Regions from separate parts of the Homo sapiens genome. Here all the other regions are linked to region 4. The links are contacts of gene promoters, found by promoter capture Hi-C in blood cells and fetal thymus (Javierre and others, 2016). All regions are on one chromosome and are shown on one strand. The core of a region is centred on a gene start or on the middle of the fragment in contact, and the rest is flanking DNA. Distances in the headings are between cores, read along the strand shown. Region 1 holds the start of HSD3B7 (hydroxy-delta-5-steroid dehydrogenase, 3 beta- and steroid delta-isomerase 7). Region 2 overlaps SETD1A (SET domain containing 1A, histone lysine methyltransferase). Region 3 has its middle 58 kb from the start of ZNF267. Region 4 holds the start of TGFB1I1 (transforming growth factor beta 1 induced transcript 1). Region 5 overlaps STX1B (syntaxin 1B). Region 6 overlaps ZNF267 (zinc finger protein 267). Region 7 overlaps STX4 (syntaxin 4).

Region 1 (3,115 bases), core at 616-3,115, 490 kb before region 4:
CACTGTGACCAGGCAGATGCTCGAAGGAGTCAGTGGCTCTCTTACCCAGTGCAGATTTCCCTGGAGTTCCCTGCGGGTGACTTAGAATGGCCACCAGAGGCTTAGGATGCTGCCCCAAAGAGGGAGGGCTCCTGGAAGCAGAGTCGAGAGAGTCAGTGCCGGGTTAGCGGGAGCTGGAGGCAGAGCTGCAGCTCCAGGCCTGGTGGGCGTGGACCTGGGGTGCTGGCTGGCAGGCGTGCTCAGGGGCAGGAAGTGGGGGACTCTTCCCTGACCATCGCATCTCACCCTGGCAGATGGTGGCCGACATGCGGGAGAAGCGCTACGTGCAGGAGGGCATTGGCAGCAGCTACCTGTTCCGGGTGGACCACGACACCATCATCGATGCCACCAAGTGTGGCAACCTGGCCAGATTCATCAACCACTGCTGCACGGTGCGCCAGGGGCCAGCCGGGGCAGGAGTTGGGGGTCGGTGGGGGTGGCCACGGCTCACACGCCCTTCCATCCGCAGCCTAACTGCTACGCCAAGGTCATCACCATCGAGTCCCAGAAGAAGATCGTGATCTACTCCAAGCAGCCCATTGGCGTGGACGAGGAGATCACCTACGACTACAAGTTCCCACTGGAAGACAACAAGATCCCGTGTCTGTGTGGCACAGAGAGCTGCCGGGGCTCCCTAAACTGAGGTGGGGCAGGATGGGTGCCCACACCCCTATTTATTCCCCCTGGTGCCCTGAGCTCCCAGCACCCCCCCAGCCTTAGTGGGCTCAGCAGGGCCCACATGCCCCCATCTCCAAGCGTGGGGTTGGGGGCCCCAAGCCCAGCGAGGGAGCCTCAGTCCCTGGAGGCAGCTTCTGCCTCTCCTGTCACCCCTGCCCACCACCCCCTGATTGTTTTTCTTTGCGGAGAAGAAGCTGTAAATGTTTTGTAGCAGCCAGCAGCTGTTTCCTGTGGAAACCTGGGGTGCCGGCCTGTACAGATTCTGTCCTGGGGGGCTACACAGTCCTCTTGCTTTGTGTTAATGGGGACTTCCCCTTACGCCCTGCGTGTACCCCTCCCCAGTTTAGGGGTCTCTGGGGCAGTGGCCATGTTCTCCCCCTGGGGGGGCTCTGCACCCCCAGTCCTGGGGACTCCGTGCCTGGAACCCTGCCTCATCTGTTCCTGCCAGACCCTGAGGGTCACCCTTCCACCCTGGTGTCACTCCCCGGCTCAGCCAGGCCAGGATGGCGGGGTGGGTCCCTTTTGCTGGGCTGGACTGTACATATGTTAATAGCGCAAACCCGACGCCACATTTTTATAATTGTGATTAAACTTTATTGTACAAAAGTGTTTGGTCGGTGTATTTGGGCAGGAGCGAGGGGTTGGGGGTAGAGGGCACGGAGGGTTGTGCAAGTTGAAGAGAGGGAAAAGTGGGTACCTGAAGTGTGGGGCAGGTAAAGGGGCCTTCAGGCAAGAGCCCAGACCTGCAGAGACAGTCCGAGACTGTCTCGGACCCCCTGACAGGCTGCAGCAGCCGCACCCGCACCAGGAATACCCCACCAGTGCCCGCCAGGGTGGTGCCAAGGTCAGGCCTCCCCTTCCTACAATCACAGCTGCAGCTGGACCTCCGGCCTCCTGGGAAGCCCAGCAGGAGGGAAGGCCTGAGGTCACACTGTGGGATGAGGTCACCGCTGGCTCCACCCACAGCCCCAGACCCCTTCAGCCCACTCTGCAAGTTCGAGCTTCATCCCCACCAAGTTCTCCGCTGGACCCAGATGCCAGTGGAGCACAGAGCGGCCGCCAGGGGGCGCCTTGGGGCAAGAGTGGTGGGGGTTGTGGCTGGGCGGGTCTCTGTTCCTGGAATGGGGCAGGAGGGAGAAGGAGGAGCCAGCGGAAGGACGGTGTGCGGGCCGGCCAGCCCTGGACGAAAGAAGAGGGCCCCTCCAGGCCAGTCTGGGCACCCTGGGATAGCGGCTGCAGGTAGGCAGAGGCGCTGCCAGTGCCCAGGTGGCCTTTCCCTCCATCCGGCCCTTCCCACCTTCCTATAACCTTCCCTCCACCTCCCTCAACTCCTGGCCTCCCCACCCTTTTACTGCCTTCAAATCTCTCTCCCTAAACCCTGACCCCTTCCTGCACCCCAAGCCCGCCCCTCTCTCCGTAACTCAGCCATCAGCAGGGGCAGACGGCAGGTGGCCTGGTTGCTGCAGCTCCCAGGATCAGCTCTGCCCTCCCCGCAAACGCCAGCCTCGTCACCGCTCCAGGGCACCTCCAGCAGTAACAGGTGGTTGCAGCAGGTGGCAGCCAGCCCCTGGATGAGCCAAGGTCTCTTCCCCAGCCAGGCATGGCCGACTCTGCACAGGCCCAGAAGCTGGTGTACCTGGTCACAGGGGGCTGTGGCTTCCTGGGAGAGCACGTGGTGCGAATGCTGCTGCAGCGGGAGCCCCGGCTCGGGGAGCTGCGGGTCTTTGACCAACACCTGGGTCCCTGGCTGGAGGAGCTGAAGACAGGTTCTTGTTGGGGGAGCTTGTGGTGGAGAGGGTGTGGACGCTTCCCCAACCCTTCCCAAGCTGGGATCCCCACCCCTGCAGTGGAACAGATGATGCTGGTTTCTGTCCACATGGATGGGTCGAGTGAGTCACATTGGGAACGTGACTCCAGGGTGGAAGATGAACCCAGCCTCTGGCCTCTGGCCCCAGCTCTGACATGGCCTGTGTCCTCCAACCCCGGCCAGGGCCTGTGAGGGTGACTGCCATCCAGGGGGACGTGACCCAGGCCCATGAGGTGGCAGCAGCTGTGGCCGGAGCCCATGTGGTCATCCACACGGCTGGGCTGGTAGACGTGTTTGGCAGGGCCAGTCCCAAGACCATCCATGAGGTCAACGTGCAGGGTGAGGAGCTCTGGACACTCCTGGCCATCTTGCCTGTTTGTTCCCCACTCTGTCTTTGGCCTTGACCTCCGGTGACTCCCCTGGGACAAGTTGTCCTATTGACAGCCCTGCCCCCGCCTCCCCTGACCTGTCATGGTTTTCCCTGGACCTGGGATGGGGAGGAGGAAGATGCAGAGAGGGAAGAAGCTGCAGCTTGGATACGCCTCCTCCTCTGCCAGGTACCCGGAACGTGATCGAGGCTTGTGTGCAGAC
Region 2 (2,807 bases), core at 1-2,500, 510 kb before region 4:
GGCACCCCCTGCTCCCAGGACACAAGCTTCTCCAGCAGCCGACAAGATACCCCATCTTCCTTTGGCCAGTTCACACCTCAGTCCTCCCAAGGAACCCCCTACACGTCTCGGGGCAGCACCCCCTACTCTCAGGACTCTGCCTACTCCAGCAGGTACAGAGCAGACCCCGCCTGGGGCCCCGCCCGCAAAGTCTGGGAGCTGCCACTGGGAAGAAGATGCCCAGAGTCTGTCTCCAAGAGGGAGTTGGAAATAATTTGTCCTAGTTTCTCTGTGGATTCAGTCAACAAATTGCTGTCCTCGGGGAACACACTAGCTAGGAACCCAACATATAGCTCTTCTTTTGGAGGGCAGCATAGAGGGGCTTTGGGCCCTGGGACCCAGTACGCTGTGGTTTGGTCATAGAGAGCTGAGTCCAGCTAACTCCCCTGCTTCTTCTCCAGCACCACTTCAACCTCCTTCAAGCCCCGGCGGTCAGAGAACAGCTACCAAGATGCCTTTTCCCGCCGCCACTTCTCTGCATCTTCAGCCTCCACAACCGCCTCCACGGCCATCGCCGCCACCACTGCAGCCACTGCCTCATCCTCCGCCTCTTCCTCCTCATTGTCCTCGTCCTCCTCGTCATCCTCTTCCTCCTCGTCCTCTCAGTTTCGTAGTTCTGATGCAAACTACCCAGCGTATTATGAAAGCTGGAATCGCTACCAGCGCCATACTTCCTACCCACCACGCCGGGCCACACGGGAGGAACCCCCTGGAGCCCCTTTTGCTGAAAATACAGCTGAGCGCTTCCCACCTTCTTACACCTCCTACCTGCCCCCCGAGCCCAGCCGGCCCACCGACCAGGACTACCGGCCTCCTGCCTCAGAGGCTCCACCCCCGGAGCCTCCAGAACCTGGTGGAGGCGGGGGTGGAGGAGGGCCCAGCCCTGAGAGAGAAGAAGTTCGGACTTCCCCCCGCCCAGCCTCCCCTGCCCGCTCTGGCTCCCCAGCCCCGGAGACCACCAATGAGAGTGTGCCCTTCGCCCAGCACAGCAGCCTGGATTCCCGCATCGAGATGCTGCTGAAGGAGCAGCGCTCCAAGTTTTCCTTCTTGGCCTCTGACACAGAGGAGGAGGAAGAGAACAGCAGCATGGTCCTTGGGGCCAGAGATACAGGGAGTGAGGTGCCTTCTGGGTCAGGGCATGGGCCCTGCACACCCCCTCCGGCCCCAGCTAATTTTGAGGATGTGGCACCTACAGGGAGCGGGGAGCCAGGGGCTACCCGGGAGTCTCCCAAGGCAAATGGACAGAACCAGGTGAGGTTGGGGTCAGCCAGAGGAGGCACCTGGGCTCTGGGAGTCAGGGTTGGGCCTAGGGGAGAGGGAAGGGAACCAGATGAGAAAGTAGGGCTTGGGTCAGGCAGAAGCCTTCTGTGACCCTCTTCTGCCCCCGCAGGCTTCTCCATGCTCTTCTGGAGACGACATGGAGATCTCCGACGACGACCGGGGTGGCTCACCCCCTCCGGCCCCGACGCCCCCTCAGCAGCCTCCGCCACCTCCCCCTCCCCCGCCGCCTCCTCCTCCCTACCTGGCGTCCCTTCCTCTTGGTTATCCTCCCCACCAACCTGCCTACCTCCTCCCACCCAGACCTGATGGGCCGCCGCCCCCTGAGTACCCCCCACCTCCTCCACCACCCCCGCACATCTATGACTTTGTGAACTCCTTGGAGCTCATGGACCGACTTGGGGCTCAGTGGGGAGGGATGCCCATGTCCTTCCAGATGCAGACCCAGATGTTAACTCGGCTCCATCAGCTGCGGCAGGGCAAGGGATTGATTGCCGCCTCAGCTGGCCCCCCCGGTGGGGCCTTTGGGGAGGCCTTCCTCCCGTTTCCACCCCCGCAGGAGGCAGCCTACGGCTTGCCGTATGCTCTATATGCACAGGGGCAGGAGGGCAGAGGGGCATACTCACGGGAGGCCTACCACCTGCCCATGCCAATGGCAGCCGAGCCCCTGCCCTCCTCCTCAGTCTCGGGAGAGGAGGCCCGGCTGCCACCCAGGGAAGAAGCAGAGCTGGCAGAGGGCAAGACCCTCCCGACAGCAGGCACCGTGGGCCGTGTGCTCGCCATGCTGGTCCAGGAGATGAAGAGCATCATGCAGCGAGACCTCAACCGCAAGATGGTGGAGAACGTGGCCTTCGGAGCCTTTGACCAGTGGTGGGAGAGCAAGGAGGAGAAGGCCAAGGTGAGGCCAGCGCCTGGGACCGGGGAGCCCTGGGCTTTGCAGGAGGAAATGGGCCTCTGGCTCCTCCAGGCTGCACAGCTCAGAGGAGACAGGTGATGGAGGCGAGTGGAGAGAGGCCGCAGGCCCTGCAGGCCACCCTGGGTGGGCAGGGGAGTTGAGGGGACAGAGAAGCAGGCACAGATGGGCCTGGGAGGCAGCAGAGCTTTGTCCTGGCTCCATTCCTTGCTGGCTTGCAGTGGACAAGGCCCTTAGCTCTCTTCAAGCTTTGGTCTTCCATTTTGCCACTTGTGAAGTGGGAATGGTGGCTATTTCTTAAGACTGGTGGGCGAAATGACAGACTTTTGAGAAAATGCCGTGCGGGGGCTGGGACAGGTGTGACCAAGATATGGAGCAGCAAGTAGATGCGTTCTGTATTCCTGGGGTCCGGGAGTAGGTCTCAGGCAGGAGGGAATGCCTGGGTTCTGGGCGCTGGGGCTCAGCCCCACTGCTGCCTGCAGCCATTCCAGAACGCGGCCAAGCAGCAAGCCAAGGAGGAGGATAAAGAGAAGACGAAGCTGAAGGAGCCTGGCCTGCTGTCCCTCGTGGACTGGGC
Region 3 (3,104 bases), core at 482-2,981, 460 kb after region 4:
TGGACAAAAATCAGTAGCATTCCCCTACACCAACAACATCCAAACTGACAGCGAAATCAAGAATGCAATTCTGTTCACAACAGCCACAAAAAGAAAAAATAATACCTAGGAACGCAGCTAACAAACAATGCAAAAGTTCTCCACAATGAGAATTACAAAACACCGCTCAAAGTAATTAGAGATGACACAAACAAATAGAAAAACATTTCATGCTCATGGATAGGCAGAATCAATATTGTTAAAATGGCCATACTGCCCATGACAATTTACAGATTCAATGCTATTTCTATCAAACTGCCAATGACATTCTTCATAGAATTAGAAACAACTATTTTAAAATTCATATGAAAAAAAAAAAGGCCAAATAGCCAAGGTAATCCTAAGCAAAAAGAACAAAGCTGGAGACATCACATTCCCTGACTTCAAACTATACTATACAGTGACTAAAACACCATGGTACTGGTCCAAAAATAGACACACAGAAGAATGGAACAAAACAGAGATCTAGAAATAATGCCATACACCTTTAATCTTCTCATCTTCAATAAAATTGACCAAAACAAGCAATGAGGAAAAGACTCCCAATGCAAAAATGGTACTGGGATAACTAGCTAGCCATGTACAGAAGAGTAAAACTGGACCCATCCCTTACACCATATACAAAAATCAACTCAAAGTGGAATAAATACTTAAATGTAAAATCTAAACCTATTAAAAACCCTGAAGACAACCTAGGAAATACCATTCTGGACATGGCCTTGGCAAATATTTTATGATGAAGACACCAAAAGCAATTGTAACAAAAAGAAAAATTGACAAATGAGACCTAGTTAAACTAAAGAGCTTCTTCACGGGAAAAGGAAATTATAAACAGAGCAAACAGACAATCTACAGAATGGGAAAATAGTATTTGTGAACTATGCATCTGACAAAGGTCTAATATTCCGCATATATAAGAAACTTAAATACATGTACAAGCAAAAACAAAAATGCCCATTAATAAGTTGGTAAAGGACATGAACAGACACTTCTCAAAAGAAGACACACACAGCCAACGAGCATATGAAAAAAATGCTCAACATCAGTAATCATTAGAAGAATGCAAATCAAAACCACAATGAGATACCATCTCTCACCAGTCAGAATGGCTTTTATTAAAAAGTCAAATAAAAAAAGATGCTGTCAAAGTTGTGGAGAAAAGGGAACGCTTATATACTGCTAGTGGGAATGTAAATTACTTCAGCCACTGTGGAGAGCAGTTTGGCAATTTCAGAAAGAACTCAAGGCAGAATTACCATTCAATCTCACAATCCCATTATTGGGTATATACCCAAAGGAATATAAATTGTTCTACCATAAAGACACATTCACATGTATGTTCATCACAGAACTATTCACAATAGCAAAGACATGGAATCAGTCTAAATGTCCATCAGTGATAGACTGGATAAAGAAAACATAGTACCTATACACCATGGAATACTGTACAGCTATAAAAAATAGTATCGTGTCCTTTGCAGCAACATGGATGGAGCTAGAGGCCATTATCTTAAATTAACTAGCACAGGAACAGAAAACCGAATATCACGTTTTCATTCATTAGGGGGAGATAAACATTGAGTATGTATGGATACAAAGAAGGGAACAACAGACATCAGGACCTACTTGAGGGTGGAGGGTAGGAGTAGGATGAGGACAAAAAGCTACCTCTCAGGTACTATGTTTATTACCTGGTTGATAAAAGAATCTGTATGCCAAATTCCTGTGACACACAAGTTACCTATATAACAAACCTGCACATGTACCCCTGAACCTAAAATAAACTTTTTAAAAAGAAAACAAGAAGAAAATCAAAGTAATAGAGTACAAAACCGGATACTAGAGAAGGGAGTAATGTAGGCAAAAAGGGCCAAAAACTGGTTTAGCACAGGTAGAAAATGAATAGAAAAATGAGAGAAGTCAGTCCTTTCTTGTGAGTAATTACTTTAAGATAAATGGGTTAAACTATTTAATGAAGACCACAGAATGAATAATAGAAACCATCGTCTAATCATATGCTGTCTACATAACATTGAAAAGCTCAAATAGTTTAAAAGTGAAAGAATCAAAAACGATATTACATGCAAATAGTAATCAAAGGAAAGGTGGTTAGTATACTCACATCAGAAAATAACAGGCTTCACATCAAAGTTGTAACAAGAGACAAAGACAATGTATTGATAATAGGGCCAATCCAGTAAGAAGATATAACAATTATAAGCATATGCATATATTACAGAAGAACCCTCAAATATATGAAAATATATTAAATATACAATATGTTAAAAATGGACAGAATTTAAGAGAAAATGAACAATTCTACAGTAACAAATAAATACCTCAATTCCACATTTTCAATAATAAATAGACACCAGCCATCAGGCAGAACATCAATAAGTAATAGGGGACTGGTAGAACGCTATAAACAAACTAGACCTAACAAATATGTATGAAAAACTCCACCCACCCCCACAAAAAAAGCAGAATACTTTCTTTTCAAGTGCACATGGAACAATTTCCAGGAGACATTATATATTATTAGGTCACAAAACAATTCTCAATTAATTTGAAAATGATTAAAGGAAATCAAAGAATTTTCTCTGGCCAAGTGGAATAACATGAGAAATCAATATCAAAAGGAAAACTAGAACATTTGTAATAGATTTAAATAAAACAATACACTCAAACAGAGGGACAAAGAGAAATCATAACAATTTTTTTTTTGAGATGGAGTCTCACTCTGTCACCTAGGCTAGAGTGCAGTGGCACAATCTCGGCTCACTGCAACCTCTGCCTCCCTGGTTCAAGCGATTCTCCTGCCTCAGCCTCCCGAGTAGCTGAGATTACAGGTGCGTGCCACCATGCTGAGCTAATTTTTTGTATTTTTAGTAGAGATGGGGTTTCACCATGTTGGCCAGACTGGTCTTGAACTCCTAACCTCAAGTGATCCACCCACCTCAGCCTCCCAAAGTACTGGGATTACAGGAATAAGCCACCACATCCAGCCCATAATGAGAATTTAAAAATACTTCGATACAAATGATATTAAAAATCTAACCTACCAA
Region 4 (3,317 bases), core at 230-2,729:
CTGCTCCTTGCCTAATTACCTGTCTTTTTTGTTATTGCCATCCTAATAGGTATGATGTGGCATCTCATTGTAGTTTTGATTTGCATTTCTCTGGGGACTAATGATGTTGAGGATCTTTTCATGTAATCATTGGCTATTTATATAACTTCTTTGAACTGTCTATTCAGGTCGTTTGCCCATTTTTTCTTCTTTTTCTTTTTTATTCTTGACACAGGGTCTCCTCTGTTGCTCAGGAGTTCAGTGGCACAATCTCAGCTCACTGCAGCCTCTGCCTCCAGGTTTCAAGCAATTCTCCTGTCTCAGCCTCCCAAGTAGCTGGAATTACAGGCTCCCACCACCACGCACAGCTAATTTTGTGTTTTTAGTAGAGATGGGGTTTTGTCATGTTGGCCAGGCTGGTCTCGAACTCCTGACCTCAAGTGACCTGCCCGCCTTGACCTCCCAAAGTGCTAGGATTATAGGTGTGAGCCACCATGCCTGTCTCGCATTTTTAAAAAGCTCCCCAGGTTGTTCCGATTTGCTGCTGGGTTGATACTCACATTCCAGTGCTCAGATCTGTCCAGAAGAGTGGCTGCAGCACAGTTGTCTGTCCATAACTACCTCTATGGCCTCTCGTTTCCACCTCGTTTCTCAGGGTCTCAGTCCAGGGAAGGCCTTGCCACTTTGTGGCTGGAGACTGTGTCTTGCTTTCTGCTCTGAGTTCATCAGTAACTTGGGAAAGGGCTGTTTCAGAGCAGGCCTGGGCCACCTCAGTGCTGAGGAAGGGCTTTGTCTTGCAGGCTGGCTGGGGGTTGGTTGCCTGGGAGTGTTTTCCCCGAATTTGCAAGGGGCTTGCGCCCGGGTTCGAGTTTACGTGTGTCCATGACCAAGTCTTGGAGGGAAGGTCCTAGTGTAGAGTCTGTGGGTGGGTTCACTGTGTCTGTCCCCGTCCCTCAGATTTCTTTGTGTCTGGTATGTATGCCTCTTGGGGCCTCTATTTATCTGTCAGGGTCTCCGATGGGAGGGTCTCCGAACCTGAGGTCTAATTGAGCCTTAGAATATCACTCCTGCTACCAATCCAAAAATTCCGTCTGGGACAAGTCTCCCAGGAATGGCATGGGTGGGAGGGAGGCTCTTGTCTAGGACTCAGGCGCTAGCTTTGAGCGGTGTCTGTTTGGGGGCCTCAGTCCGTGTCTGTAAGTCTCCCTAGGGAGCGGCTCTGGGGCTTGGTCTGGAGAAGCCACTTCTCTCTGGCTCTGGCCTCCTGGGGCTCCCTGCAGCTGAGGCCAAGGCTGGGGTGTGGCCGCCTCCGCGGCAGGCCGGCGGGCTGGGCTCGGGTGGGCCGGGGCGCTCCCTCCTTTCCACGCCCCCACCTCGGGTTCCCCCGTTCATCGCCCCCCCATCCCCATCTCAGCGGGTCCCGGCTTCCTTACATGGTCACGGCCGGGCTTCCAGCTCCCGGACGTCCCCCGCCCCCCGCCCCCACCGGACACGGCCCCCGCCCTGTTCGCCCCGCGCCACCGGCCCGCGCCCCGCCATGGAGGACCTGGGTGAGTGGGGCCGGATCCCCGGGTCCGTGGCCCCTCACCGCTGCCCAGAGCTGCCTCCCCGCCGTCGCTCTCCCGCATCTCCCCATCCCTGTCTTCTTACTTCTGCTTTTCGCCTCTGCCCGCGCCTCCTTTCCAACTCCACGTCCCCCTTCCTGCCTCTCCCTTCCTGCCTTTCCTGGGCCGGCCGCTCCCTCCCTTCTTCCCTCGCTGTGCTCCTCCATCCCAGGCTGCGGCAGATGGAACGGGAGGTGCGGCGCCCGCGGGCGCCCGGGCGCGGGGCTCTGGGGAGGGAGGGGTTAAAGGGGCCTCGGCCCGGGGACCGGGAAAGTAGAGGGCACGGGAAAGTCTGGCATCAAGTTTTGGAGAAAAAAAGCGGGCCTGCCTGCACCAGAGTTTTGGGAGAGGAGGAGTTAAGGGCTCCTGAGCACAGTGAGGGTCAGGTCCTTGAGGCAAGGAAGAGAATAGTAACTCAGGAGTGCCTAGGCGCCCGCGAAGGCTTCAGGGTTTCACGCGGGTGCTCAGAGACGAAGACTGAGGGCAGGACTTCTGGGTTCTGGAAGTGAAAGGGCTCAAAAGACCCGGATCTGGGGATGCAGGGATGGAGAGAGGTGTCTTGTCCGGAAGGGGGACCCAGGTATCTCGTCCTCCCTGCGAAGCCTGGGGCTGGAAGGCTGTGCGCTCCACGGGAGAGAGGGGCTTCCGGCCCCTGGCGGTAGAGGGCGCTGCTCGGTAGGGGTAACTGACGCTGTACCGCAGATAAACAGCCAATCAGAAGGCAGGTCCCAGCGAAGCGCCAGTGAGGAGCCCAGGGCGGGACTCAGGGGCCTGGGAGTGGCCAGGCTGGGCGGGGCCTGTGTAGGTAGAGGGAGGAGTTAACCAGCATGGAAGAGAGAGCGTCCAATCAGAAAGCTGAGGGCCAGGCACTGGGCCAATGGAGCAATTTGGAGGGGAGCCAAATTTGGCTTGGGTGAAGAGCCCATTTTGACTGCATCAGAGAAGATGGGGAGAATAAAATAATCAGGAGGCTGGGTTTGTGCTTGGCTCCAAGCGTGAGCAACTGGGATATTCTGGTCATAAATATTCCTTGCTACCCTTCGAGCAGTGCTCTGCCTGGCTCTGGCCCTGTGACCTCTTCTCTTAATACTGGCTTCTGTCCTTCTCCAGTACTGCCCACTGGGAACCTTATCTTCTGATCTAACCGTGACCCTTGTCTCTCTCCCTGATGGCCTCTTCCTGCAGATGCCCTGCTCTCTGACCTGGAGACTACCACCTCGCACATGCCAAGGTCAGGGGCTCCCAAAGAGCGCCCTGCGGAGCCTCTCACCCCTCCCCCATCCTATGGCCACCAGCCACAGGTGAGATCGGATGTTGGGGACTGGGGCAGCCACTAGGGCCAGGCTCGGCCTGGTCTATGGGGATCTCAGCCTCAGTGGGGCAGAGTGCAGGCCTGTCATCCCACCTGTGCGTCTCCGCTCTGTAGACAGGGTCTGGGGAGTCTTCAGGAGCCTCGGGGGACAAGGACCACCTGTACAGGTGAGGGGCCTGGAAACCAGGGCATGGGGGCCAACTGAGTCTCAGGTGAGGAGGCTTGGATTCCCCACCCCTGAACCCAGGCTCCCACTCTGCTTCCCAGCACGGTATGCAAGCCTCGGTCCCCAAAGCCTGCAGCCCCGGCGGCCCCTCCATTCTCCTCTTCCAGCGGTGTCTTGGGTACCGGGCTCTGTGAGCTAGATCGGTTGCTTCAGGAACTTAATGCCACTCAGTTCAACATCACAGGTACCAGGGTGA
Region 5 (2,895 bases), core at 158-2,657, 470 kb before region 4:
CGACAGACAGACTCGAGACACAGACAGAAGAGCTGACACCCAAGGCACACAGGAATAGGCCCCCCCGACACCCACACGGAGATGCACTGATGCTGGCGTTCACCCGCACGCAGACTCACAGCTGAGCCGCACTGACATGTGTGGACACACTGGCTTTCAGCTGCACCCCTGAGGACATTTGGGAGGGCTCACTGGGCTTGTTCTTCCAGCTTCTCCGAGCCTCATGTCTGCACACACACTCAGAGCTGGACAGGAGAGGCTGTAGGGGAGGTGCCCTGTGCTACACACACCTGAGTCCTTCTCTGCTTGGGACAGAGGTCTGACAGCAAAATCTGAGTCCATCAAGCTTAATGACATCTGGAGCCCTGATCAGCCCCAGTGGAAATGTATACAGAGTTCATTCTGATTTCCAAAAAGAACCCAGCCAGAGCTCAGACAGAATCCAAACCCCAGAGGCTGGGTGAAATCAAGACAGGATCCAAACAGCATCCACCTGGGGGTGTACTCAGTTGGAATCCAAAAAGAAGAGCTTGCCAGGGTCCCAGCGGAACGCAGACAGGGCCTAACAGAAACCAGACAGGCTCAGACTGAACTAGCCGAGGCTCACACGGATCCCAGACAGATCCCAGACAGCTCAGATTGAACCTAGACAGGGCCAGATGGGACCTAGGTGCAGTCCACACAGCCAAAACTCAGGATCAGCAGTGCCCCACAGCCCCAGGAAAAGCCAGCACAGCCTGGGGGGCCTCCAGCTCCACGCTCCTGAGCCACCCCAGCCTCCCTGCTAAGCCCAGCCCAAATGGAACTCCAGGGAGTCTTCACACAGACGCTGGGCCCACACTGTGTCGGAAAATGTGTTCAGCACTTGTGTTGAATTTCCAGACAATCCCAACCATCCGCCTGGAAAGGGAGTTTCCTCTGTCTTGGCTCACAGCTGCCCCCAGAAAGTGGGGCGGCACAGGTGGCATAAGTTGGGGACCCTGAGAGGCTCTGGGATGCTGGGCTCACCTCTGAGGACCCATCGGCCTACCATGATGCTCTTCACTTTCTCTGTCCTCAAAATCCAGCTGTGCTACAAGGCCTCCTTCCCCTAGAGCCAAAAGCCTTCCTCTGCCCTTTCTCTCCCTTCAACCACTCACTCAGCCACCAGCCTCACGCAGGTCATGCGGCCTCTCCCTGGCCCGGGTGCCTGAGGACTTTCCTGTTCTCTGTGTCTCTCCCTTCCCCATGCTAATGTTAGGAAGTCTTTCCTAAAATCTAATTTCAATCTCTCCTGTTGTTCTTGGAGCCACCTCCCTTAGGTTCATCTCTGGAGCACCCTGGGCTACCTATTTGTTTGCCCTCAAGACAGGAAGAATGATAGAAGGCCCAAGTGTGGTTTATTTGGTATAATAAATACAAAGAGAGCTGGGAGCTAATAATCCTCTACCATTTACAAACACTTTTACATCCATAATCCGTTTTGATCCTCAGCACCACCAGCCCTGAGAGAAAAGCTGCATAAACATCATCGTCCCCATTTCACAGATGAGGGAACAGGAAGCCAGGGGGGTAAAAGGAGAGTGACTTGCCCAAGGGCACCCAGGCCACATAGGGCCAGAAAACCATGGGCATCCAGCCCCTCAAAGACCGCTGTTAGGCTCCAGACTGGGCTACCTCCCCCACTGACTTTCCGCTCCCAGTTACTTTCCCTCTCAGTGAGCGCCTGCTAAGTCCCAATCTGGGGAAGGCTCTGTGTCCGGACAACCTAGCAAAACAAGAGCACTTGATGGTATTTTTTGCGTAAGTCTTACATTCTTGTTATCTCATTTAATCTTCATTAGGACTCTGTAAGGACCATTGGCCAACATAATTATACTTATGCAAATATTTAGATGATGTTTTACAATGTGCCAGGCACTGTTCTATGTGCTCCACATATATCTATCCATTTCATTCTTACAACAGTCCCCTTGGAGGTATTATTATAGCCCCCTTTTATAGATGGGGAAACTGAGGCATAGAGCTAAATAACTCAGGCCAGTTGTAGTGGCTCACGCCTGTAATCCCAGCACTTTGGGAGGCTCTGGTGGGAGGATCACTTGAACCCAGGAGTTCAAGACCAGCCTGGGCAACATAGCAAGATCATGTCTCTACAAAAAATACAAAAATTAGCTGGGCATGGTGGTGCGCACCTGTAGTCTCAGCTACTTGGGAGGGTGAGGTAGGAGGATCCCCGGAGCTCAGGAGGTCAAGAGACTGCAGTGAGCTGTGATTGTGCCACTGCACTCCAGCCTGGGTGACAGAGCAAGACCCCGTTTCTTAAAAAAAAAAAAAAAAGAACTTGCCCCAGGTCAGCTGTTAGAAGACCATTTGGCTCTACCCCTGAGCCTAGTCTCTGCATTTGCTGAGTGGTAACAATGCCTACCACCGGCTGATTCCATGTTACAGACAAGGAAACAGGCTCAGAGAGGTTGCCTGACCTGCCTAAAGCTTCACAGCAAATGAGGCCAGAGGTAGGACCTGAACCCAGGACTGTCTGGCACTAAATGTCAGGCTCTCTCCCTTCTGTCCTGCTGACAGATGGCAGTCCCTCCTGGTCCTAAAAAGCCCACTCTGCCATGTCCTCAGGACTGCTGAACTCCTGCAGCCAGGACAGAAAATCAGTAGGAGGGGCCCAGGGCTGCAGGAAGAGCTTGGACAGGAGGCCATCCCTCCCAGCCTCCGTCTGTCTTGCTGTGTGACCCCAGGCAAACTTAGACTCCTCCCTGGGCCCCAGTTCCCTCATCACTGAAATGAGCAGACTGGTGCAAGTGCCCACCCTGCTCTGAAGGGCCCTCCGTGCTCTGAGTGATGCATATTTAGTAATGAGTACAGCATCCATTTCTGGAAGAAGTTAGGCCAGCCAAAAAGAAA
Region 6 (3,382 bases), core at 543-3,042, 440 kb after region 4:
ATATTATTTCACTTTTCTGAATGTTTTAAGACTTGTTTTGTAACCTAAAATGTTGTGTATCTGAAAATTATCTATGTGCTGAGAAGAATGTGTGTTCTGTAGCCATTAGATAAAATGTTCTGCAAATATTTATTAGGTATATTTGGTTTATAGCACAGATTAAGTCTGATGTTTCTTTCATGATTTTCTATCTGTAAGATCTGTACAATGCTGAAAGTGGTGTGTTGAAGTCTCAATTATTATTGTATTGGGGCCTCTCTCTTTAGCTCTAATACTCTATGTCTCAGTGCTTTAGTGTAGGGTGCATGGATATTTAAAATTGTTATATTCTCTGACTGAATTGATCCCTTTATCATAAAATGACATTTGTTCTGTCTTCACAGTTTTTATCTTGAAATATATTTTATCTGATGTAAGTATAGCTACTTTGGTTCTTTTTTTTTGTTTTCATTGGCATGGAACATTTTTCCATTCTTTTATTTTTCAGTCTATGTGTATCTTTATAGATGAAGTGTATTTCTTGTGGGCAGCAGATAATTGGGTCTTCCTTTTTCTTTTTTTCACCCATTCTATGTCATCTAATTGGAGTGTTTAGTGCATTTCCATTCAGCATTATTATTGATAAGTATGTGTTCACTCCTGCCATTTTGTTATTTGTTTTTGCATCTTCTCTTTCTTTTGTCCTTCCTTTCTGTCTTCATTTTAGTGAACATGATTTTTCTTGGTGGTATGATTTAATTTCTTGCTTTTTGGTTTCTGTGTCTGTTGTATGTTTTTTTATTTGAGGTTACCATGAAACTTACAAATACTATCTTATAACCTATTGTTTTAACTGCTGACAACTTCACACTGATTGCCTAAGTGAACAAATAAGCAATAAGAAAACTAGTAAAAACTCTACCTTTAACTTTGCTTCCCCATTTTTCAACTTTTTGTTGGTTCTCTTTATGTCTTATTGTACTGTCTTTGTCTTGAAACATTGTTGTAGTTGTATTGAGTCATCATTGAGTATTTCTACTTGAGTATTTTACACACCACAGTTACCATATTATAATACTCAGTTTTTCTCTGTGCTATTACCAATGAGTTCTGTACCTTCAGATGACTTCTTATTGTTCATTAACATTCTTTTCTTACAGATGGAAGAGAATGCCCCTTAGTATTACTTGTAGGACAGGTCTGGTTTTAATGAAATCTCTCAGTGTTTGTCTGGGAAGGTCATTTTTTTCTCCTTCATGGCTATGGAATATTTTCACGGGATAGACTATTCTAGTGTAAAAGCTTTGCTACTTCAGCACTTTAAATATGTCATGCTATTCTCTCCTGGCCTGTAAGATTTCCACTGAAAATCTGCTGCCAGACGTACTGGAGTTTCATTGTATGCTGTTTCTTTTTTCTTGCTGCTTTTAGGATCCTTTATTCTTAATTTTTGGGAGTTTGATTATTAAATGTCTTGAGGTAGTCGTCTTTGGGTTCAATCTGCTTTGTGTTCTGTAACCTGGTTGTACTTGGATATTGATATCTTTATAGATTTGGGAAGTTCTCTGATCGTATTCTTGAAACTTTCTACCCCTGTCTCTTTCTCTCTTTAAGGCTAACAACTCTTAGATTTGCCCTTTTCAGGGTGTTTTCTAAATCTTGTAGGCATACTTCATTCTTTTTTGTCTTCTCTACATATTTTCAAATTGCCTATGTTCAAGCTCAATAATTTTTTCTTTTGCCTGATCAGTTTTGCTATTAAGAGACTGATGCATTCTTCAGTATGCCAATTGCTTTTTTAACTTCAATTTCTGCTTGATTCCTTTTAATTATTTCAACCTCTTTGTTTGATTTATCTGATAGAATCTGAATTCCTTCTCTATTTTATCTTGAATTTGTTTCCTCAACACAACTATGTTGAATCATCTGTCTGAAAAGTTACTTATTTTGTTTCTCCAGGATTGGCCTCTTATGCCTTATTCAGTTTGTTAGGTGAGGCCATATTTTACTGGATGGTCTTAATGTGTAGATGTTCATCTGTGTCTTGGCATTGAAGAGTTAGGCATTTATTGTAGCCTTCGCAGTCTGGGCTTTGTGTCCACCCTTGTTGGGAAGGCTTTCCAGAATTTGAAGGTACTTGGATCTCAAACTCAATAACGTTGTTCTTGCAGACTCATAGAGGTACCATGTGGTTGGTCTTGGTTAAAATCGATGAATTATCTGGATTACCAAGCAGAGACTCTTGTTCTCTTCCCTTAGTTTCTTCCAGACGAATGGAATTTCTTTCTCTATGCTGAGCTACCTGGAGCTGGGGTGGGATGACATAAGCTTCCCTGTTGCCCCCACCACTGGGACTGTGCTAATTTAGACTTGAAGTGAGCACAGCACTGGGTGTCACCCAAGGCCCAGTGTAATTACTGCCTGGCTACCACCTAAGTTTACTCAAGACCTTAGGCCTCTACAATCAGCAGGTGGTAACCAGCCAGGTTTGTGTCTCCTCAGGGCAGTGAGTTCCCTTTGGCCCCAGGTAGGTTCAGAGATATTGTGTGGGAGCCAGGTATTGAAGTCAGAAGCCTTATTTATCTCGTGTTCTATTCTACTGCAGCTAAGCTGGCATTCAAATTACAAGACAACATCCTTACCACTCCTCCCTCCCCTTTCTGCAGGCAGAGGAGCCTCACAATGTGTCTGCCACCACCACCAGCCCACAGGGGTTTCCACTGGGCTATCACTGATGTTCACTCAACACCCAAGCACTCTTCAGTCAGCTTATGATGACTGCTTCCACAACTGGGACTTACTCTTTGGTGCAGGGCAGGTCCAGAAATGCTGACTCAGGGACCCTAAGAGTCTGCTTGGTGCTCTACCCCACTGTGGCCAAGCTGGTACCTCAGGTGCAAGACAGAATCCCATTTACTTTTTCCTCTGCTTTGCTCAAACAGAAGGTGTCTTTCACTATACCCACCACAGTGGGAAATGTTCTGGGTCACACCTGAAGCCAGCACATCTCGGAGTCCAATGTTCATGATGTGTTATTGGGGTACCACTGTAGGTTATTCAGAGACCAGCAGCTCCTAAGTCAGAAGGTGATGAATCCTGCCAGGTCTCTGCTGTGATAGGGCAGCACTGGGTTCATTGTAGTCCCCTAGTCACTGTGCTCTCCGTCTCCCAAATGAACAGATTTCTCCCCGCCATGCAGATGCTGCTGAGGGGCAAGGGCAAGGTGGCACAAGCACTCCCTTTCCTTCACTGTTGGTGTCTTAGTAGTTCACGTGCCACTTTATTGTAGTAAAGTTTGTATATCAATTGAGAAAACACGGCCTCAGGTTTTTCACTCAACTGTTGTTGTATTCTCAACTTAGCATAATTTTGTATATTAGATTTGTAAAATATATGTACCTGA
Region 7 (3,169 bases), core at 211-2,710, 430 kb before region 4:
TACCACTGCAGATAGAGGTTGTATGGGATAAGTGAGCAGGGGACAAGGGACTACATGATAGAAGGGGCCTGGAAGCCATCCCCAAGGAGTCTGAACTTTTGTCAGATCAAGTCTTGCCCTTGTCTTTGTTAGTGCAATTTTTTTTTCCTGCCAGGAATGTTCTTCAGTCATCTGGGGTGGGGTGGGCAAAGGCATCCTTACCTCCCTGAACCACCCCATCCTCTGAGCAGGGGGAGATGATCAATCGGATTGAGAAGAACATCCTGAGCTCAGCGGACTACGTGGAACGTGGGCAGGAGCACGTCAAGACGGCCCTGGAGAACCAGAAGAAGGCGAGGAAGGTGAGCCTCCCAGGCCCGGCCACTGCCCCAGGCACCCTGTGTGACTTCCCTGACCCCCTCCTCTCCCACAGAAGAAAGTCTTGATTGCCATCTGTGTGTCCATCACCGTCGTCCTCCTAGCAGTCATCATTGGCGTCACAGTGGTTGGATAATGTCGCACATTGTTGGTGAGATGTTGTGGGCTGCCCCCTGGCCTGCCCCAGCCCTGGCCCCAGCCCTCCCTCCTCCCTCAGACCCTGTTCTCCCTCCTTTCCTTACAGGCACTAGGAGCACCAGGAACCCAGGGCCTGGCCTTCTCTCCCAGCAGCCTGGGGGGCAGGGCAGAGCCTCCAGTCGGACCCCTTCCTCACACTGGCCCCTATGCAGAAGGGCAGACAGTTCTTCTGGGGTTGGCAGCTGCTCATTCATGATGGCCTCCTCCTTCAGGCCTCAATGCCTGGGGGAGGCCTGCACTGTCCTGATTGGCCGGGACACACGGTTTTGTAAAAAATTAAAAAACAAAAAAAGAGCATAGAAAGCCCTGTGCACGTGTGTTCCTGGAAGGGCTGGCCCAAGGCTTCCGGGCATCCAACCTCCTTACCTCCTGGACGTCCCCAGGGCCAGGTCTGGCCCTGGCTGCTCAGGTCAAACTGCCAGGGGTGCTGTGCCCACAGCAGGCTGGTTCTGCCTTTCTGCACCCCCATAGGAATGGGTGGGCAGGGAGGGGTAACACCGGCATCTAGCTCCTGGCTCAGTACTGTCCCCGGGAAAGGACCACTGTGAGTATCTGTCTTGGAAATGATGAGGCTGACCAGGCCAGGCTGGGACGCAGGTGAGATGGGGGTTTGGGTGGCATCAGTGGGCCTTCTTGTGGCCCAGAGGAAGAGGCACCATGAAAAAATGCCTAATTGAGGCTGTCACTTTGGATGCAGTGGATAGGGATGGTCTGGTTTCAGCAGGGATGACATTGGAGTGGGATGTTAAGCTGGGGAAGAGGTTGCCAGTCAGAAAGCACAGGAGGCCGGGCCCTGTGACCAACAAAAGCATCATCTTTTACATAAGCGTTTAGGCAGGGTGTGGTGGCTCGCACCAGTAATCCCAGCACTTTGGGAGGCCCAGGCAGGAGGATCTCTTGAGCCCAGGAGCTTGAGACCAGCCTAGGCAGGATGGGGCAACCTCTTCTCTTTAGAGAATAATAATTTTACAAATTAGCCAGGCGTGATGGCAAGTGTCTGTCGTCCCAGCTACTCCAGAGGCTGAGGTGGGAGGATCGCTTGAGCCCAGGAGATTAAGGCTGCAGTGAGCCATGGTCATCCCACTGCACTCCATCCTGGGTGACAGAGCGAGACCCTGTCTCAAAAATAATAGCAATCATCATCAGTAGCAGCAGCAGCAGCAGCAGCAGCATAGAGAGCCAGTGATCCTGGATCAGTGCACCTGGTTGCTGAGGGTTACCTGGCTGAAGCAGGTGGTGGCAGCAGAAAAGCCTGACCTCTGATTTCTTCCATAAGGTACCTGAAATCCAAGCCCTGACTAAATTTCTTTTTTTCTTTTTTTTTGAGACAGAGTCTTGTTCTTTTGCCCAGGCTGGAGTGCAGTGGCACTATCTCAGCTCACTGCAAGCTCCGTCTCCCAGGTTCACGCCATTCTCCTGCCTCAGCCTCCCGAGTAGCTGGGACTGCAGGCACCCGCCACCACACCCGGCTAATTTTTTGTATTTTTAGTAGAGACGGGGTTTCACCGTGTTAGGATGGTCTCGATCTACTGACATCGTGATCTGCCCTCCTCGGCCTCCCAAAGTGTTGGGATTACAGGCGTGAGCCACCGCCTAAATTTCTAAGGGCTCCTAGTCCTGATGCCTAATTTCTGGAGTGGACGTGGCTCCTGTTCCCCGACACCTAGAGTTTTTGTTTGTTTGTTTGTTTGTTTTGAGACAGAGTCTCGCTCTGTCGCCCAGCCTGGGGTGCAGTGGCGCAATCTCGGCTCACTGCAAGCTCCGCCTCCCGGGTTCACGCCATTCTCCTGCCTCAGCCTCCAGAGTAGCTGGGACTACAGGCGCCCGCCACCATGCCCGGCTAATTTTTTTTTTTTTTTTGAGACGGAGTCTTGCTCTATCGCCCAGACTGGAGTGCAGTGGTGCGATCTCCGCTCACTGCAAACTTCGCCTCCCGGGTTCACGCCATTCTCCTGCCTCAGGCTCCTGAGTAGCTGGGACTACAGGCACCCGCCACCGCGCCCGGCTAATTTTTTGTATTTTTAGTAGAGACGGGGTTTCATCGTGTTAGCCAGGATGGTCTCGATCTCCTGACCTCGTGATCCGCCCGCCTCAGCTTCCCAAAGTGCTGGGATTACAGGCATGAGCCACCGCGCCCGGCCCCCGACACCTAGTTTTAAAGGGTAAGCCGGCTCCTGGCACCTGCCTACTTGCAGTAGGGCGGCGCCTAGCTCTGACCTCCAAGGTCTGGGGACTGCGTCGCAGCCGCCCAGTCCATCCCACTTTCAATCTTACAGGCCCCTGCTGTTGCTGCCGCTGCCGCCGCTCCCAGCTGCCCAGTCTGGCGGGCTCAGTCCCGCGTTGCCATGTGTGGGAGACCGCGTCGCGTAAGCGCTGGATGTGGCTTCGCTGATGCACATTGGACCGGGCTCTGGACTGGGCTAGGGGAAGGGCAGGAGGGCGGAATTGGGCCCGAGGGCCAGGCCTCGCCGACCCCCGACTGCGCCTCCCGGTGGCCCCGCAGCGCCTCCCGGTGGCCCTGGAGTGCAGGTCTTACCGTCCGAGATCGTCCGCAACTGGGCGAGCTGTGCATGGGGCGTGGCTAAGGCCGTGGTTTGGTTACGATTGGCCAGCG

What was found. Contacts are between HindIII fragments. The CHiCAGO score rates a contact against its expected background, and 5 or more counts as called.
Region 1: a contact is called between the fragment with the promoter of HSD3B7 here and the fragment with the promoter of TGFB1I1 in region 4, in 4 of 17 cell types (neutrophils, fetal thymus, monocytes and 1 more). The highest score is 10.7, in neutrophils.
Region 2: a fragment that was not itself captured here is called in contact with the fragment with the promoter of TGFB1I1 in region 4 in 6 of 17 cell types (neutrophils, naive CD8 T cells, monocytes and 3 more); the score reaches 8.9 in neutrophils.
Region 3: a contact is called between a fragment that was not itself captured here and the fragment with the promoter of TGFB1I1 in region 4, in 1 of 17 cell types (neutrophils). The highest score is 6.0, in neutrophils.
Region 5: a contact is called between a fragment that was not itself captured here and the fragment with the promoter of TGFB1I1 in region 4, in 5 of 17 cell types (total CD4 T cells, neutrophils, total B cells and 2 more). The highest score is 8.4, in total CD4 T cells.
Region 6: a contact is called between a fragment that was not itself captured here and the fragment with the promoter of TGFB1I1 in region 4, in 5 of 17 cell types (neutrophils, monocytes, M0 macrophages and 2 more). The highest score is 8.0, in neutrophils.
Region 7: a contact is called between a fragment that was not itself captured here and the fragment with the promoter of TGFB1I1 in region 4, in 2 of 17 cell types (neutrophils and naive CD8 T cells). The highest score is 8.2, in neutrophils.

The regions. Positions count from the first base shown.
Region 1 is chr16:30,983,342-30,986,456 of GRCh38, forward strand. It overlaps HSD3B7 (hydroxy-delta-5-steroid dehydrogenase, 3 beta- and steroid delta-isomerase 7), which reads left to right and starts at 1,866. Exons shown (of 7, transcript NM_025193.4): 1 at 1,866-1,956; 2 at 2,312-2,483; 3 at 2,708-2,863; 4 at 3,082-3,115. The coding sequence starts at 2,318. SETD1A (SET domain containing 1A, histone lysine methyltransferase) reads left to right here. Exons shown (of 19, transcript NM_014712.3): 18 at 294-431; 19 at 509-1,323. The coding sequence ends at 682. RefSeq lists an enhancer at 1,335-1,847. The HindIII fragment of the contact is 29,451 bases long and covers 1-3,115 here.
Region 2 is chr16:30,964,172-30,966,978 of GRCh38, forward strand. SETD1A (SET domain containing 1A, histone lysine methyltransferase) reads left to right here. Exons shown (of 19, transcript NM_014712.3): 6 at 1-152; 7 at 441-1,290; 8 at 1,430-2,215; 9 at 2,713-2,807. Among named protein-coding and RNA genes, the nearest start is that of SETD1A, 7.8 kb to the left of the region's middle. The HindIII fragment of the contact is 2,452 bases long and covers 25-2,476 here.
Region 3 is chr16:31,930,304-31,933,407 of GRCh38, forward strand. No RefSeq gene overlaps it. Among named protein-coding and RNA genes, the nearest start is that of ZNF267, 58 kb to the left of the region's middle. The HindIII fragment of the contact is 8,251 bases long and covers 1-3,104 here.
Region 4 is chr16:31,470,673-31,473,989 of GRCh38, forward strand. TGFB1I1 (transforming growth factor beta 1 induced transcript 1) reads left to right here and starts at 1,480. Exons shown (of 11, transcript NM_001042454.3): 1 at 1,480-1,529; 2 at 2,769-2,884; 3 at 3,010-3,062; 4 at 3,163-3,305. The coding sequence starts at 1,517. RefSeq lists an enhancer at 1,819-2,359. The HindIII fragment of the contact is 20,246 bases long and covers 1-3,317 here.
Region 5 is chr16:31,002,375-31,005,269 of GRCh38, forward strand. All of the region lies in intron 1 of STX1B (syntaxin 1B), which reads right to left. Among named protein-coding and RNA genes, the nearest start is that of STX1B, 6.8 kb to the right of the region's middle. The HindIII fragment of the contact is 2,126 bases long and covers 345-2,470 here.
Region 6 is chr16:31,911,054-31,914,435 of GRCh38, forward strand. All of the region lies in intron 3 of ZNF267 (zinc finger protein 267), which reads left to right. Among named protein-coding and RNA genes, the nearest start is that of ZNF267, 39 kb to the left of the region's middle. The HindIII fragment of the contact is 1,026 bases long and covers 1,280-2,305 here.
Region 7 is chr16:31,039,311-31,042,479 of GRCh38, forward strand. STX4 (syntaxin 4) reads left to right here. Exons shown (of 11, transcript NM_004604.5): 9 at 231-341; 10 at 413-508; 11 at 602-854. The coding sequence ends at 493. Among named protein-coding and RNA genes, the nearest start is that of STX4, 7.3 kb to the left of the region's middle. The HindIII fragment of the contact is 8,081 bases long and covers 1-3,169 here.